Linked DNA regions of Homo sapiens: regions 1, 2 and 4 are each linked to region 3. Evidence: promoter capture Hi-C in 16 types of primary human blood cells and fetal thymus (Javierre and others, 2016). All regions are on one chromosome and are shown on one strand. Each heading gives the region's core, a stretch centred on a gene start or on the middle of the fragment in contact. The rest is flanking DNA. Distances are from core to core; before and after follow the strand shown.

What was found. The method cuts DNA at HindIII sites, captures the fragments that hold promoters and counts their contacts. A CHiCAGO score of 5 or more calls a contact.
Region 1: a contact is called between a fragment that was not itself captured here and the fragment with the promoter of SIRT5 in region 3, in 1 of 17 cell types (megakaryocytes). The highest score is 6.0, in megakaryocytes.
Region 2: a fragment that was not itself captured here is called in contact with the fragment with the promoter of SIRT5 in region 3 in 1 of 17 cell types (naive B cells); the score reaches 5.3 in naive B cells.
Region 4: a contact is called between a fragment that was not itself captured here and the fragment with the promoter of SIRT5 in region 3, in 2 of 17 cell types (monocytes and M2 macrophages). The highest score is 6.4, in monocytes.

What each region holds. Positions count from the first base shown.
Region 1 is chr6:12,939,206-12,943,270 of GRCh38, reverse strand. The region is part of intron 4 of PHACTR1 (phosphatase and actin regulator 1); the gene reads right to left. Among named protein-coding and RNA genes, the nearest start is that of PHACTR1, 220 kb to the right of the region's middle. The HindIII fragment of the contact is 5,602 bases long and covers 1-4,065 here.
Region 2 is chr6:12,920,446-12,924,516 of GRCh38, reverse strand. The region is part of intron 4 of PHACTR1 (phosphatase and actin regulator 1); the gene reads right to left. Among named protein-coding and RNA genes, the nearest start is that of PHACTR1, 210 kb to the right of the region's middle. The HindIII fragment of the contact is 3,183 bases long and covers 179-3,361 here.
Region 3 is chr6:13,571,903-13,575,954 of GRCh38, reverse strand. It overlaps SIRT5 (sirtuin 5), which reads right to left and starts at 1,354. Exons shown (of 10, transcript NM_012241.5): 1 at 1,211-1,354. LOC105374937 (a long non-coding RNA gene) reads left to right here and starts at 1,521. Exons shown (of 2, transcript XR_926497.4): 1 at 1,521-1,990; 2 at 2,734-3,883. RefSeq lists enhancers at 417-1,002, 592-1,071, 1,003-1,589 and a silencer at 1,282-1,801. The HindIII fragment of the contact is 7,984 bases long and covers 1-4,052 here.
Region 4 is chr6:12,902,599-12,906,192 of GRCh38, reverse strand. The region is part of intron 4 of PHACTR1 (phosphatase and actin regulator 1); the gene reads right to left. Among named protein-coding and RNA genes, the nearest start is that of PHACTR1, 190 kb to the right of the region's middle. The HindIII fragment of the contact is 4,961 bases long and covers 1-3,594 here.

The sequences.
Region 1 (4,065 bases), core at 538-3,037, 630 kb after region 3:
CATATGTGGCTTCTTTCTCTTGGCATAGTATTTTCAAGGTTCATCCATAAAGTACACATGTCAGTACTTTCTTTCTTTCTATGGCTGAATAATATTTCATTATATGGATATGCCACATATTGTTTGTCCACACTTTGTTCATTGATGAACATTTGTGGGTGTTTCTACCTTTTGGCTATTGTGAGTAACGCTGCTATGAACATTCCTGTACAAGTTTTTGTTTGAACATCTGTTTCTAATTCTTTAGGATATCTGTCTAGGAGTGGAATTGCTGGGTCATATGGTAATTCTATGTTTAACCTATTGAGGAATGAATAATACTTTTCTATTGAATATTACCAGGATTCTGCAAAGATTGAATGTGGTTGGTAGGGCAGATCTATACCTGCTGAAATGCCTGGGTGAAAGAGCTATGGAGCTTTGGGATATGTGTGCTTGTATCAGCATCGGTCAGGAAGATTGACTTGTATGATTCATTTCTCCACTAGCTCATAAGCTACTTTCTTCAGTGGAACTGCATTGTCAAACACTAGGGCATTGGAGTTGGACTGTATGAATTCCAATCCCAGGCTTGTCATGTATCATTGTGACCTTATTTACATTTATTTATTTGAGACAGGATCTCGTTCTGTCGCCCAGGCTGGAGTGCAGTGGTATGATCTCGGCTCACTGAACCTGCCGCCTCCTGGGTTCAAGCGATTCTCCTGTCTCGGCCTCCCAAGTGACTGGGATTACAGGTGTAAACCACTGCACCTGGCCACTGTGTGACTTTAAACTAGTTGTTTGACTCCTAAGACTTAGTTTCATCACGTGTAAAAGAAAGAACTAGCTCTAACTACAACATGAAGTTGTGGTTACTTTAAACAGGGCAGGGTATTTCAAAAGTGTAGTATATCACTTGGCAATAAATACTCAAAAAGTATTAGCTTGTATTGTGTTTCTACTACTTGATATCCCTGTGGTGTTTAAGTAGCACAGTGCTAGGCACACTAAAAGGCACATAATCATATGGAAATAATGACATATTTAATGGGAAATGACTCAGATCATTTTGAGGATTATCAATTTTTTCTCTTTTTTCCTTCTTTTTTTGTTGTTGCATGTCTGTTGGAATATTCTGTTTCCTCAAGGGTGGGCAAAAGATGGGATGTGGCATTGGAAACTCAATGTCAATGAATGTAGGCAGAGATTTTCTTATGGGTACTTTTCCTTTAATCCCACTCTGGATGAGGTCAGTTGCTGGCAGAATGGGGGAATTGATGAGCCATTTATCTCCTGCTCAAAGTGTTTCATACCTTGGGGAGGAGCTTCTCCAAAAGGAAATATCAAAGAACTCTCTGTCTGTATTAGAAAATGCATTTTAGTTAATTCAGGTCCACTCATGATGTTTTGATTGCAAGCCCCATATAATGACCTTTGAGTTCACTTTACATATTTTTCTATGCCAGTGCAAGCCTTCAGCGTTACAAACATCAGGTTGCATATACTTTTGCTTGTATGCTTGCTTCTGGCTGAGAATCTGCCCTGGGCTCTGACTATGCTGTATCCCTGACTCATGCTGCTTCGAGGCTCGCCTGTCCTGACGTACACCCATAATTCACAACTCTGCAGCTTCCCAGAACCCCAATGCTACACTTCAAGGACGTTTGGCTCCTACTTACTGAAGGTAGGAGCAGATTCAAGTGGAGAGGCAGGAAGTGGCGAGTGAGAGGTAGTGACATCCGGTCACGAACTCTCCCTGCTGAGGAAAGGTCTTAGAGCAATGTGCTGAGTGATGAGGCCCCTCCACCTCTTCTTTACTTACAATCAGCCTGGTACTACTGTGGTTTTCTGCTTGCTTCTCTTCACAGTTATGACTTGTAAGAAAGACCCTTCATCATTTTACAGAGGTGATTTATGCCATAACAAATGGCCATAAAGAGTGCCACAACTGCAGTGGGCCAAGCACCAGATGTGACACAGAATATGTGATGTAGGTTAAATATCAAGTACCTGTCAGTAATTTGCTACGACTCTGAGGATACTTCTTAAAGAGGACTTTACTGCTGGTCTGGTTTAGCCTTTCACCAGCTGAAGAAAGTTTACCCAAACGTATTGGGACTCAAGGGTTTTCTGTAGGTGAACTACAAAGGTGAGTGGAGTGCCCTTGACCCTGAGCCTCACTGGTAGGTAGAAAAGGATTGCTCATATGAGATTGATGCCATAAAAAGCCCAGGAAACATAACGGCCAAGTGAAAATCATATGCTTACTCTGCAAGCACCTCTTTAAGGCCAAGCCCCCAGGCTCTCCTTCCAATAATATTGTAATTACTAAGGACAATCTATACAGACACCTTGAAGCCATTGCTACATGGGGTGACAGTAGTAAGAATCATTTCTGTCTGTCCCGATTTTTCTGTCTTAGCATCCGTCATGAACAGATAGTAAGCGTCTCTGTCCAAATGATACATATTAAGGGACAAGTGTGTTCAAACATTAAAATAGTCCCACTAATGGGAGGCTGAGAAACGTAGATGGCACAGATGAGCAGCACAGCACTCAGAGAGTCATTAAACGTGAAGATCAACATAAAAATCTCCAACCTGCTTGCTTTACCCATGTCAAAGCCAGGATGAGATGTATGTAGGACATGACACACAGAGGCGAGAATGTATATTTCCATCACTTCTGAGCAACTTCCTAGCAAAAAGTTCCATGAGGACTTCCACCTCCTTAAAGTCAAGGCTTTTCATCTATTACGAATTCTCAACTGACTTCTGGGGCAAACATCATAAAGCAATTTTATCTCCACTGAATATTTCACCATTCTAAATAGAAACTCTTCCAGCCTCTTACCCTGTTGCTGAATTTGCCCTAAAGAAAAGTAACCCTAAACCAACATATGCAGGCTCTCATGAGTTAAAACACAAACCCCTTACAACCATGTTATATATATGAAATTCATCTTTTAACACAAAAAGCTGAAAAGCAGTTTTAAGAAGACTTCACAATGCCATCCCACACCATGAGTTATTTAATTGCAATAGGAATACATGTACCAAAAATCATTCCCTAATTAGCTTAAACCTAAAACAGCAGTTGTTAAATATGTGATTGGTGCTGTTGCAAGAGGGTGTGCTTTTGCCATTGTGTCGCAGAGGCTGTGATGGTGTTCAGGTTTTATTTTTAAAGTTTGGGTAATTATATCTTAAACTAACAGCAGGGGGGAAATGAATCATGTATTTGTCTCTCTTATTACAGCTTCTCTCCCCAAAAGTGTTTCCTTTCTTGCCGCATTTACCTAGCTGGCAAGGTGTTACTCTGGGTCCTGAGGACAGAAGCATCTGGGATTTGATCACAAATTGTATAGTAAACATTCTGAGACAGGTGACTGCCACCCAAATTCATTATAAAGTGGAAAAAATGCACTCAATTAATTCAGTACATTTGCTGGCTATAAAACTTGAACAATCAACAAGAAACAGTTTGGCATTGGAGGTAAAGTTCTGGACTGGATGTCAGAAAACCTGGATTTGAGCCCACCTCTGCCAGTGACTAGTGGGGCACCTCTGGCCCCCCCTAGCTCCTGGGGTCTCGGTTCTCTTTTATGCTCACTTAGGTTGCTTGCAGCTCTGAGATGTAGAATTCCACATCAATAAAGAAGAGTGGAATGGTGTGAATGTCATGAATATACAGCTACTTGTATAATCTACTGCTTTTCTCCAATTAGTATGAGCTATGCGTCAGCCTTAGACTTGGCTGGGATTTTGACTGATGAGGAAAGAGTTCTAGATACGAGAAGTGACTGGTTAACAGTCACACTCTTGTTAAATGTGGGAGACAGAGTACAAACCAGGGATTTCTATGTTAGGTGGGCTCAAATCCAGGTTTTCTGACATCCAGTCCAGAACTTTTCCTCCTATGCCAAACTGCTTCTTGTTGATTGTTCAAGTTTTATATCAAGCAAATGTACTGAATTAACTGATGCTAAGGCACCACCTACCTAAGGCATCAGTTACCTAAGGCAATCTCTCCTTCGATTATGGAGAGACCAAGTGACATCTAAATTAAAGGCTTTACCATTGT
Region 2 (4,071 bases), core at 521-3,020, 650 kb after region 3:
AGGCGTGAGCCACCGTGCCCGGCATATAGTTTAAAATTTTAAATCTCATTGTATATCTCATTAAGAGTTCATGGAAATTAGTGCATTGCCAAAAGATGGGCAAATCAGTGTCAATAGAAAATTTAACCAGTTTGGGATGGTTGCTTGTAGAAACACACATAAGACCAATAATAAAGCTTGAATTGTTGTTTGCATTTACTTTAAATAACCTAAATATAATTACAAATTAACACATGTTGGCATATGTATGGACACACACGTTTATCTGTGCCTATATGTAAATATATTTATGTATATATGTATTTACATACATACACATGTATTATCTAGAAACACATAGTCTCAGCAGTTTATAAAGTAGGTCAATTTAGCTTTAAGGGCAAATATTTTATATCATCTAAACTACTGCCTCCAAAACTTACCCCAATACAACAGCAACAAAAAGCACAGTTTGTATTTGGAGATCATGTCTTTCAAGATTGAATTAGTAAATTAAAGTGTTTGATATTCAGTTTACTTTAGAATGTTACCTTATTACCACGAACAGAAGCTCTTCATTATCCAAACCTCCACCTTTATGGTGGTGTTTAGAGAGGCAAACAATCATTGTAATATCAACATGTGACACATGAACCTACTGCTTATAAAATTAGTCATCATCTCTCTCACTTCCTTACACTACTGCCTCTTCAGGCCTATCCTGTCTTTGAAGATCGGTTTCTCATTCGTGTCTAATGTTACCTGACAACACAATTAAAATCAATTGCAAAGGGAAAGAGCAAATCTGGTGAAGAATGCATGGTTTCTTGAAGTTAGTGAAAATGATGGGGGAGAACTGCAAAACTAGTGAATCATGAGCTTCTGAAAGAGATTCATTTGTAACTGAGAAGGAAAAAAAGAATTGGCAAGGATAATGATAAGATAGATGCTTCCATGGAAATAATTTCAATATCAAAGTATTGGTATTAGGAAAATGGAGGGGGTTCTCAAAAAATTTAGCAAATGCGATTCTCTTTTGGATCATGCTGCAGAAGTCATGCATGATGTCAAGGATATTGCATTGTGCTATCATAATATTTGTTGCAAAATTATTTTTAGTGAAAATTATTTTGTGTTCTATAAATTATAGCATGTAATATTTTATCCTAAATTTCATTAGAGGATGACATTAACTTACATAGATTCATTTTTCAAAGTAAATTCTCAATCATACATCTTTTTTACTATTTATTATTAAAGCATAGGTCCTTTGGGATAGATTCATTTCCATGACCTTTGATAAAGACTTGTCAGTCATATCTAGACCCCTGTCTCCTCTCATCTCTTCTAGTTTGGGCACATCCTTAGTCTCCTTTGCATTAACTTTTGAGTTACTGGAAGTCTCTGTAACTATTCCTAGCTGCACAGGCAATAGATTTATGGAGGAAGGCTCTGTTTCGGATTCTATTTTTGTAATCAAAATTGCATGGGGGATTTTTGCAATCAGAATTATGGCAGATTACATATCTCCTGACATAGTGTCTGTAGAAAACATTCAGTAAGTATTTACTAAAGGAATATAGTTCTTTCAATTTACTCCGGGGTCTGATGCAGAGTTCTAGGAATAGGGTGGGTTGTGGGAGGAGGTGCTATTCCTTTTAATTCCTGTACCCTGACTCCAAAGGCAATGCCAATCTTAATAGACAATGGTCTCAGTGGATAATGTATACCTCTTCAGAGCTGCAGATAATTTCTTCATAGAATTAGTGAATTAGTAAGCAACTAGTAAGTCCTTCAGATCTACTTAGAAGGTATTTACTTCCATACTCCTTCTTACCACCCACTGACTAGGAATGCACACTATTGAAAATGAATGGGTAAAGGATAGTAGGAGGAGTGAAATGGAAAGTTGAAATCAATGCATGGAGAATCAGCTAGGAGATATATGTTCTTGTTTCCATCTCCATGTTTATGGATGTGACTTCTAAACACGATCTAGCTGTTCCATGCATATTCAAACTCTCATTTTAGGTTAGGATGAGAACTTTGCTTTATTCCTTTATGGATGCTGATGGCTCTGCACAAGCTAACTCACATGCCCTTGCTTTACTTTCCCTGGGCTCCAGCACCATACACTGCATGCAGTTCTCTAAAGCCAATATTATTAATGTGTACTGATCTACGTAAAATAAGACAGAGCTATGAATAATTTTACATGCTTTTGCTAAACATTACCCTCAATACTTCAGTCACAATTATGAAGTCTTAGAGTCATTTTTTATTCCAATTTTCCCATTTAATGAATGAGGAAGCAAGATCTTGCAAGGAGAAGAGTCCTTTGTGAGGTCATACTGCCAATAAAAGGCAACCCAGAAATTAGAACCCAGGGATCCCAACTCCCCATTCAATGTTCTGCAAATGACATGGGGTATTCCTTATAAAAGTAGCTCACAGATGTTCTCTGCTTTATAGTGCCACAAAGCAAAGTGATCATCTCCTTTTGATACTTGTTTTTACTGTGACTTTGTGATGTGGATAGCACAGGCACCATCATTCTTATTTGCAGATGTGGAGAATGAATCTGAGAGAGAGTAAGGGCCCTTTTCACAAGGCCTGCTGGCACTAGAGCCAGACAACACTGAGATGCAATACACAGCAATGCATGGACCAGCCTTCTTGCCTTCCTGCCTCCCTCTCTCCCTCCCTTCCTTCCTTCCCCCTTGCTCCCTCCCTCCCTTCCTTCTTCCCTCCCTCCCTGTTTCTCTCCCTTCCTTCTTCCTTCCTTCCTTTCCTCCTCCCTCCCTCTCCTTCCTTCCCTTCTTCATTCCTTCTCCTTGCTTCTTTCCATCCTTCCTCCTTCTTCCTTTCCCTCCTCCCTCCCTTCCTTCTTCCCTCCCTCCCTCCCTCTCCTTCCTCCCTTTCTTCCTTCCTTCCTCCCTTCCTCCCTTCCTTCTTCTCCTTCCTTCCCTCCTTCCTTCCTTCCTCCTTCCTCCTTTCCCTCCTCCCTCCCTCCCTCCCCTTCCTTCCTTCCTTCTTTCCTTCCTTCCTTCCCTCCTTCCTTCCTTCCTTCCTTCCATCCTTCCCTCCAGCATGGGTAGGATGTCAGTGTTTCACAGTGCACTAGCATTTTAGTCTTGAAGACAAGGACTGTCTTTTTCATTTCTGTGTGTCCTGCACACTCAGCCCTGTGCCCAGCATTGGTAGATACTCATTAGTTATCGAATTTATTCTCCAGAAAGCTGGGTGTGAATGCCTGTGCTGGTTCCTAACAAAGTGGTCAAGAACATGAACTTTGGACCTGATCTAAAAAATTACTTGGCCATTTTCTTTCTAGTTGTGTGATCATGGCAGGGCAGGGATAGAGTGAAGCAAGTGACAAGCTTAGGGTGCTTGGTTTAAGGAGGTGCCCATTCCCAGGTGCACTGCACCAATGTGAGAACGGGCACATCCTGAAAGTCTGCACCCTAAGTGTCTCATTTGTCTCACCCTAGTCCTAGCTCTGAACTGGGGACAAGTGCCTTAATTTGTCTAAACTTCATGTATCAAGCAAGGATAGTAGTACCAAAATCAAATGCCAAACCCAGTATCCAACTCAAAAGGCTGACTTATAGCTAAATGAGATGTTTTGTACAGTGTTTGAAACATGATTAATCACTCAAAAGTGGTAGCAGTTATTATTAGGGGTTCTATTTTCCAGTCCCTTGAATTTTACAGCATAATCCCCATCCATCCCCAAAAGCTGCTTGACATAGAAATGTACACCTTCTTACAGCTACTTTCTTTCTTTTGTTTATTTTGCTCCTACTTCACCTTGGCCTGGCCTTGGCCTTGTTCAAAGGGGCACTTTGATAATGACAGTACTTTTACATTCACCATAATTCTACAATTTATGAATTATAATGTAGCTACAAATTTATTTCAATATTGCATTCTGCCTCACTCCTTATAGTGCCTGGCAGGGAAAATAGGAACAGGAAGAGAAGCAAAAACTTAATAATGAATGGATTACCATTAATGAAGAGATAATGAAAAACATTCATTAACATCACTGCAAAGTCAGACTCCTTGACAGTTTATTTCAGATGACAGATT
Region 3 (4,052 bases), core at 105-2,604:
CTGGAGGACATGAGGCCAAGTAAAATAAGCCAGGCACAGAAGGACAAACAGCACATGATCTTACTTATATACTTGGGGTCTAAAAAAGTTGAACTCATAGAAGCAGAGTAGAATGATGGTTACCAGGGGCCTGGCAGAGGGCTGATGTGGAAGGGAGGGATGTTGGTCAAAGGATACAAAGTTTTAGTTAGGTAAGAGGAGTAAGTTTTAGTGATCTACTGCACAGCATGGTGACCATAGTTGATGATGTATTGTATATTTCCAGGAGAGTAGATTTTCACCACAAAAAATAAGTAGGTGAGGTGATGGATATGTCAATTAGCTTGATTTAATCTTTCTACAATGTATACATATATCAAAACATTACACTGTACGCTATAAATATATAAATTTGTCAATAAAAATAATTATATAAATATATATTTATATAAAACAAAATACATGCTAAGGATAATGCAATGAACTGCAAAAAGTTGTACAGGCTCCCAATAAATAATTTTTGAACGCCTAAGAGCTAAATAAATGCAATACATCACTCCCAGGTGTCTCCACTAGGGGGCCCCATTCCCTCCCGTTCCATCACCTGCTTTCCTCAAGGTCGTCTCCACCCTCCTATTTGTTGATACCCGGCCTCTGACCCAGTTCATCACTTTCCCGGGCTTCCGGGCGCCACCCTCTTCAGGTTTTCCTCCTACCCCTCCAGCCCTGCCCCTCTGGATCTCCCATCCTCCCAGCGCGCCAGACTGCATGCGGCCTCCCCGCCCTGTGTCCAAGAGGCAGCTTCCACTCCACGCGGGCAAGCCTGAGCTCCAGAGCCGTCCTCAAGCCGCCTCCCCCCGAAGCACTGGGACTTCATCCTCCCGGCTACTACTCGTGCCCAGGGACTAGGCCCTGAGCCTTCCCTTCTCGCACGCCCCATAGCCAAGCTGCTCAGCAGAACCTGACGGCTCCACCTTCAAACTACGTCCGGAATCCGACCCCTCTCCACGCCCACTGCCTCCACCCCGGCCACCTTCCTCGGTCACCCTGGCAGCTGCAATGACCAGGGTGACCTTTCTGAAAAGGGAGGCTCTGTTCGGAGCCCTCGCGGGGCTCCCCAGCACAGCGGCCTCCCATGCCCACCTGCTCGGGTGGGATTACTTTCCAACCCCGTTTCCATCCCCCTCCCTGGTCTCCAGCCGCAGCGACCCCCACGCAGAGCCCGGAAGACCTTGGGCCCCGCACATGCTGCCGGCCCGCTAAGAGCTCTGGGTACCCCCGGAGCGCCTTCCAGGCTTTCTCCTAGAGGCGCTGTGTCCCGACCGCGCTCCGGACCTGAGCCACGGCTCACCTGGGGCAGCTCGCGCCCCCGAATACAGTCTCCCACGCCCCGCCCCCCGGGGTGCCTCCCTCCCAGCTCTCTGTACCCACCCACCATCCCCCACATCCCTTCCTCCAACCGCTAGCCAGTCACCAGCCCGGGACCGCAGGGCAGAGGCCGGGCCGCGCATGCGCACCGCGGACCGGTGCCACCTCCGCTCGCGAGCCCGCGGCAGGCCCTGGGCGGTGCGCGCAGTCCCGCGAGAGCAGTGCTTGGTCGGGACCTCGAAGCCGGAGCCCGAGCGGGAGAGGCCGCGGAGACCCCGGCCCGGCGCAGGCAGAGACGCACCTGCGGGAGGCGGGCGCGCCGGCTGGAGAGGAGGCCGTGGGGCGGAGCGGCTCAGCGTTCTGCTCGGCTGCAGCGGCCCCTGCCGGAGACCCGGGCGCCGTGGTCTTCTTTATAATTGAAGGATTGTCTCTCTGTTTTTATTTGGGGTGGGGGTGGGGGTGGGGGGCGGCGCAGTGACTTGCTTCGACTTTGTCAGCTTCCAGGGTTCATTCCACTGCCCAAATATGTAGTGAGTTACTACCGGCTTTGCTTCCTCCTTCAGCAAACGGCTGGACCACACAACTTCAGGAGAGAGGATTTTAAATGTTAGGGTCATTTTCCCTAAAACGATTTCAAATGACGGTGAGTTGGTTCCCAGGCTAGGCCACCTAACCTCGAACGCAATGACGAGTGCACTCTGACTGCTGAGCTGAGAGCCTTCCGTGGCTCTGGGACCCAGTGACTCACGTGGCTCCGCATGTCCCCGTTCCCTTAAAATCGGAGTCTTTCCTTTTCTTGGATTCCGGCTTGCCACCAGCACCACTTGGCAGAATGGAATTGCTTGCGGGCATGTCAGTGGACTAGAAAGGGAAGTAAGTGGTCTGAGAACTTGGGGGCCAAAAATGTTACATTAACATTTTTTGCCTACCTAAAATCTCAGCCACTTCCCACAGTTTGGCTGGAAATTCAGCCCATGTTGAGGCCCTTCTCATTCCTGCAGGTGTTACCAGCAACTCAGAGGTTTATGGAGTAACGAAATTGGGGAGGGCCTCACATCCGGCTGCTGTTTTTCCCCCTAACGTGTATGGTGCTTATTCTGAGCCAGACACTTTTAAGAACTGCACATTATTAACCATTTTAAATCGTCCCCACCACCTGATGAAATAGGTACTGTTATCCCCACTTTATGGGTGGGGAAACCGAGGCCCAGGGAGGTCAAGTAACTGCGCAAAGCACAAAACTGTTGAGTAGTAGTGTTACCAGGGCAGTCCTGGAGAAATCGCTCAGAGGGCAAAACTGAGAGCTCATTATTTTCTTAAACAGTAGACAGCTGAAAATGCTCATTGTTTTTTAAACCGTTTTGTTTGTTTGATTTTTTTTCCTAGTCTCTTTATCTATAGGTAACCCAGCTTAAAACAACTGCGGTTGGCCCGGGATCCTCACTGCCCTTTGCCAAGTACCAGAGAAAGATAAGGCCTACTAGGAACCAGAGAAAACCAGAACCAGCCACCCCTTGTTACTTTTAGATCATTAATACATCATTATATGCTCAACTCCCGACCCGTAGAAGAGAATCGCCGCCATTTTCTGATAGTGCATTGTATGAAGAGGCATGTTTATGAAATGCACCTGTGCGTCTAGAGTTCCTCCCGGCATATGCTTGCATACCTCCCCACTCCACATCTAACGCCTTACAATTCCCCAGCTTCCCAAAGCTCTGGAAGAAGGGGGTCTTTAGAGTGAAAGTTTACTCCTTCTCTATTCCTGGCCAGGAATGAAACCCGCTTGCCGTTTTTTCCAGTTGGTGTGCTTTCTTTGCAACTGATACAGACTAGGAAAAGAACGCAATTTACCAGTAACAGTAGAGCTGGGATTTAAATCTAAGTGCTTTGACTTCAAAGACAAGGTTCCAAGCTGCTACACATACCAATTCTCGTTAAAGTGTATTCCATTTCTTTTGTGCTTTCATATTGACCATTGTGTGTTAATCCTTTCAATTGGAAGAAGAGGGAGACAGTGCCAGTTATTGCAAACTTTCACAGTCCACAGGCCCGATATGTAGCCTTCACCACCCACAGGTTCTGCCACTTCTGGGGCATTATATTCCATCAAGATCCAGGCACCCGCCATCCACATACCAGCCCTGGAACTCGTCCCTTCTCCCAGACTTGGAAACGCCACCTCTCCCTGACCAATGTCGAGCCACTTCCTCATCTTGATACATCAGCCACTATCCTTTCCATCTTTCAGGCAACTCCAGCTTAATTTCTCGATGGCCTTGCCCTTCTAAAAGGCCGTTCTCTTTTCCCAGATGACTTTTTCCTATCCCCTCCACAGTAACTCCCCTCATCCTTCCAGTCTCAATTCAATTGTTCCTTGGTGGGGTGGGGCGGGGGGAGCCTTCTTAAACCCTCCTCCCTCACAACTGCATGAGGTCCCTTGTCTCTAATATAAGCTCCTGTAGCACCATGGCACTTATCCCAGTTGAGATTTTAAATATATTTCTGTGTATTTGATTAAAGTTTCTCTCCTCCACCAGGCTGTGAAGGTGGCTTCTTGTTTTGTTTTGCTCCCCGTGGTATTCCCAGCACCTCAGGATCCCTTATAGTAGATGCTGAATTAGTAAATACATATTAAATAAATGAATGAACAATCTCACAGGAAAAGCAGCCTCAAACTCAGAGGATAATGGCTTGGGCTATCT
Region 4 (3,594 bases), core at 652-3,151, 670 kb after region 3:
TATTTTTAAGTCATTCTAACTGGTGAAAACCAGAGCTGTCAATAGGCCAACTACCAGAGATTTCATTTTACACTCAGACCACAAGTGACATTTCCATGAATCTGACTATCTCATATATAGACAATGACAGACACACAAAATGTGCCTTAATTAGTCTATTACATAAATAGAAAAGCAGAAATAAAGTGAGAGAAAGGCAACTTGCAAAACCATTCCACTTCTGTTCTAGAACTTTAAAATAGTTAGAAGCAATACTAAAAGTTATTCATTCAACCTCTTTACTATGCTATGTTGGGACACTGTCACACATACATCCCAGGAAATTTAATTAATGAGATGTTGCCACGTAGGAATATTCTAAGCCCCTACTATCCTAATATCATCTTAAATGTATAAAAGGTGCCCACTGACTTAAACTGATAAGTTAAATATAAAGCAATATGAATTTATGGTTGTTACATGAAACTGGCAAATACTCCTCACTCAAGCCACCAAAATCCTGTCTTTGGACCTCTCTTCTCTGCCTGGTTAATTCCTTGTCATCACCTTCTCTGGATGTGCTGTCATGCCCTCTCCCTCCTGAGCCTGTTTTAGTTATCCCTCTCCTGCTGTCTGTCACATAGAACTGTCACTCTCCTCTATCTCCTTCACTAGACCGGAAATGACAGCAAAGACCGTGTCACCCTCAGTTCTGGACCCCAGAAGAATAGCACAGTTCCTAGCATATAGGATGTGTTCGACAAATTTTGTACTTAAATGAATATATGGCTGCTGATTAGACACATAGTATGGGAACAGGCAGCTCTAGAACCAGCGCTGAAGGTCTTATTAAAAGATACCCATCACTTTAAACTAGTTTGAGTTTAAGGACAGGAATATACATTCCAATGGATCTTACCTTGAAAATGTGCTTCAGTGGTTGTTTACCACCAAACCTTTGACTTCCTATGAGGACACTGGTCCTGCACCCCGTTAGCTCCATGCTTTTCCACCCTGGGTGGTCATTAGAATCCCCTGGAGAAACTTTAAAAATCTATAGCTATCTTGTCCCCATTTAAGCCAGGCTCCATGGGGTTGGGACCAGGCATCATAATTTTTCAAAAGTTCCCCAGGTGATTTTGACGTTCAGTGCAGGGTTGAGAAACATGGAATTAGTTGGTGGGTAGAAGCCTCCCCTACCATCAAGTGGGCTTTCCACTGGACTTTCCTGCTATTTTTATGAAACTAGTTGGAATCCTGGCCCAATAAATAGCACTTATTGCTGAGTGCTCACTGCATGCCAGGGACTTTGCATACCTCATCTCAACAAAATCACTATTGTTCCCTTTATATACAAAAAGAAATTGAGGCTCAAAGGGATTAAGAAGCAGCAGCGATGAGATTGAGATCCACCTCTCTCAGAAGTCAGACCGTGCCCTTTACATGACATATTAGGCTGGTTGGATGGGGTTCTGATTGTGCTAGACTGAGTCCGGGTCAGTGCCTCGGGGTATGTAGCTGGTTCACCCTGCAGGTAAAGAGTCATTTATCCTTCCCCAAGTCAAAGAGGTGTTAGGAAAATGAAGGTGGAAAGGTTTAATGTTTGATGTGATTCTTACGGCAAGTAAACTACTGTAATGAGTAGTTTCTGTTCTTTCTTCACTTTTTTTTTTTTTTTTGAGATGGAGTTTTGCTCTTGCTGCCCAGGCTGGAGTGCAGTGGGAAGATCTCAGCTCACCACAACCTCCGCCTCCCGGGTTCAAGCAATTCTCCTGCCTCAGGCTCCCAAGTAGCTGGGATTACAGGCACCTGCCACCACGCCTGGCTATTTTTTTTGTATTTTTAGTAGAGATGGGGTTTCACCATGTTGGGCAGGCTGGTCTTGAACTCCTGACCTCAGAGCCTCCTATATTGCTGGGGTTACAGGCATGAGCCACTGCACCCGGCCGTAATGAGTAGTTTCTATAAAAGAGACTAGTTTAAAGACAAAAGGAAATGCTAAAAGAAAGCCCTAACTATTGCCTTTATATATAGTTTATTTGTTAATTCATATGTATGTTTTGGTTATTTAATAAACATAAATGAAAATGTCTTCTCTGTTCCAGATGCTGCATGATATGCTGGAGATATGTAAAAGAATAGCTCAGTAATCCCCTAAATCTTAAAATGAATGCAGGCATTGTGTCAAAATAATAATAAGCAAACTCTCCACTAAAAATTATTTTTAATAGTTAAAAACAGGAATTGACTTTAAAAGTTTTAAGGCTCTCACCTCCTTAATAAGATGCTAAATTATAAAACATATGGCATTATCAGGAAATAAGAAGAAACAAAAAAATCATAGATATCCCAGTTGAATTCCTGACCCATTTAGAATGGTTTAGGAATTGTTAGTAGGCTGAAATCTCTCTTAATTTACCACAGACTTTATACATATTTTAAAACTCAGCTCGTGGAAAATATAACTATGGCCAATGATTTTAAGCTATTTTTATATGATCTCAAGGGCATAGACATATTTATTACCTTTAATAAAGTAATTAAAGTCCCATTTTACTCATGCTTCTTAATGATTATGTACTGAGTTATTAGGGAGAAGGCTATAAACCTTTCTAAGGGCAAAGGCCAGGAGGGCAGAATAAACCAGTGGGGAGCCTTGGAGAATTGCACCCAATGTGCTCATTCTTAAATAGGAAAGAGGAAACAACCCATGTCAAGAAGGATGGAGTCCAGTCCTGTTGCCCTTGTAAGGAAGTGAAATTTGTTTAGCTTCTTCTTTAACCTTGCAGTGAGGCAACCTTTGGCTATGCTGACCACGTGCATGATACATTTGGACTAATGCTATTTTAGGTTGGTATTAGTGATGGGAACATTCACTTCTTGGCTCCTACTTGAAGACATGTCTCCCTTTAATAATATCCACCCTTTACCACACAGTTGCTTTGTGCCTTATACTGTTCTAAGTGCTTTCCTTATCCTTATTCATTTGATCCTCTCAGGAACCCTTGACGGCATTCCCACCTTATAAATAAGGAAACTGAGGAACACAGTGGTTAAGGAAGGTGGCCAAGTCTCCCAGGTAATGCATGGCAGAGCTGGGAGCCGAAAGCAGGTGTCTGGCTGCAGGACCCTCGCTCTTCACCACCACACTTTGTCACCTCTCATGAAGACGTTTGCTTCTCTTCTTCCTTCACCTCAAATTCGTAAGTTGAAAAAGCCACCAGGGATGTTTGGAACTCATGGAGGAAGGCAGTCACAAGGGGCCGGTTGGGTCTCGACAAATGGTGTCATTGCCCTAAGTAAGCTGAGTGTCTTCTGGGGACCGGGTTGCTGGGGTCTTAAGTGGCCTGTTGAGATGGACAGTGTGGGTTTGTTCAGCTTTATCAAAATATGGATAGTTCATCCTGCTTTGAGAGAGTAGTGAGCGAATCTGCACATTCTCCAGGCCAGTTATATGTTCTTCATATATTGATGAATGTATTGATTCATTCAATCATCATCCAGTTGATTGATGGAGCAATCGAACATTCAAGAGGAAGAAAATGAATGCTGGGAAAAGAAAATCCAGGTTATGCCCCTCAGCCTAGGAAAGATGTGGAGAAAAGTGATACCACA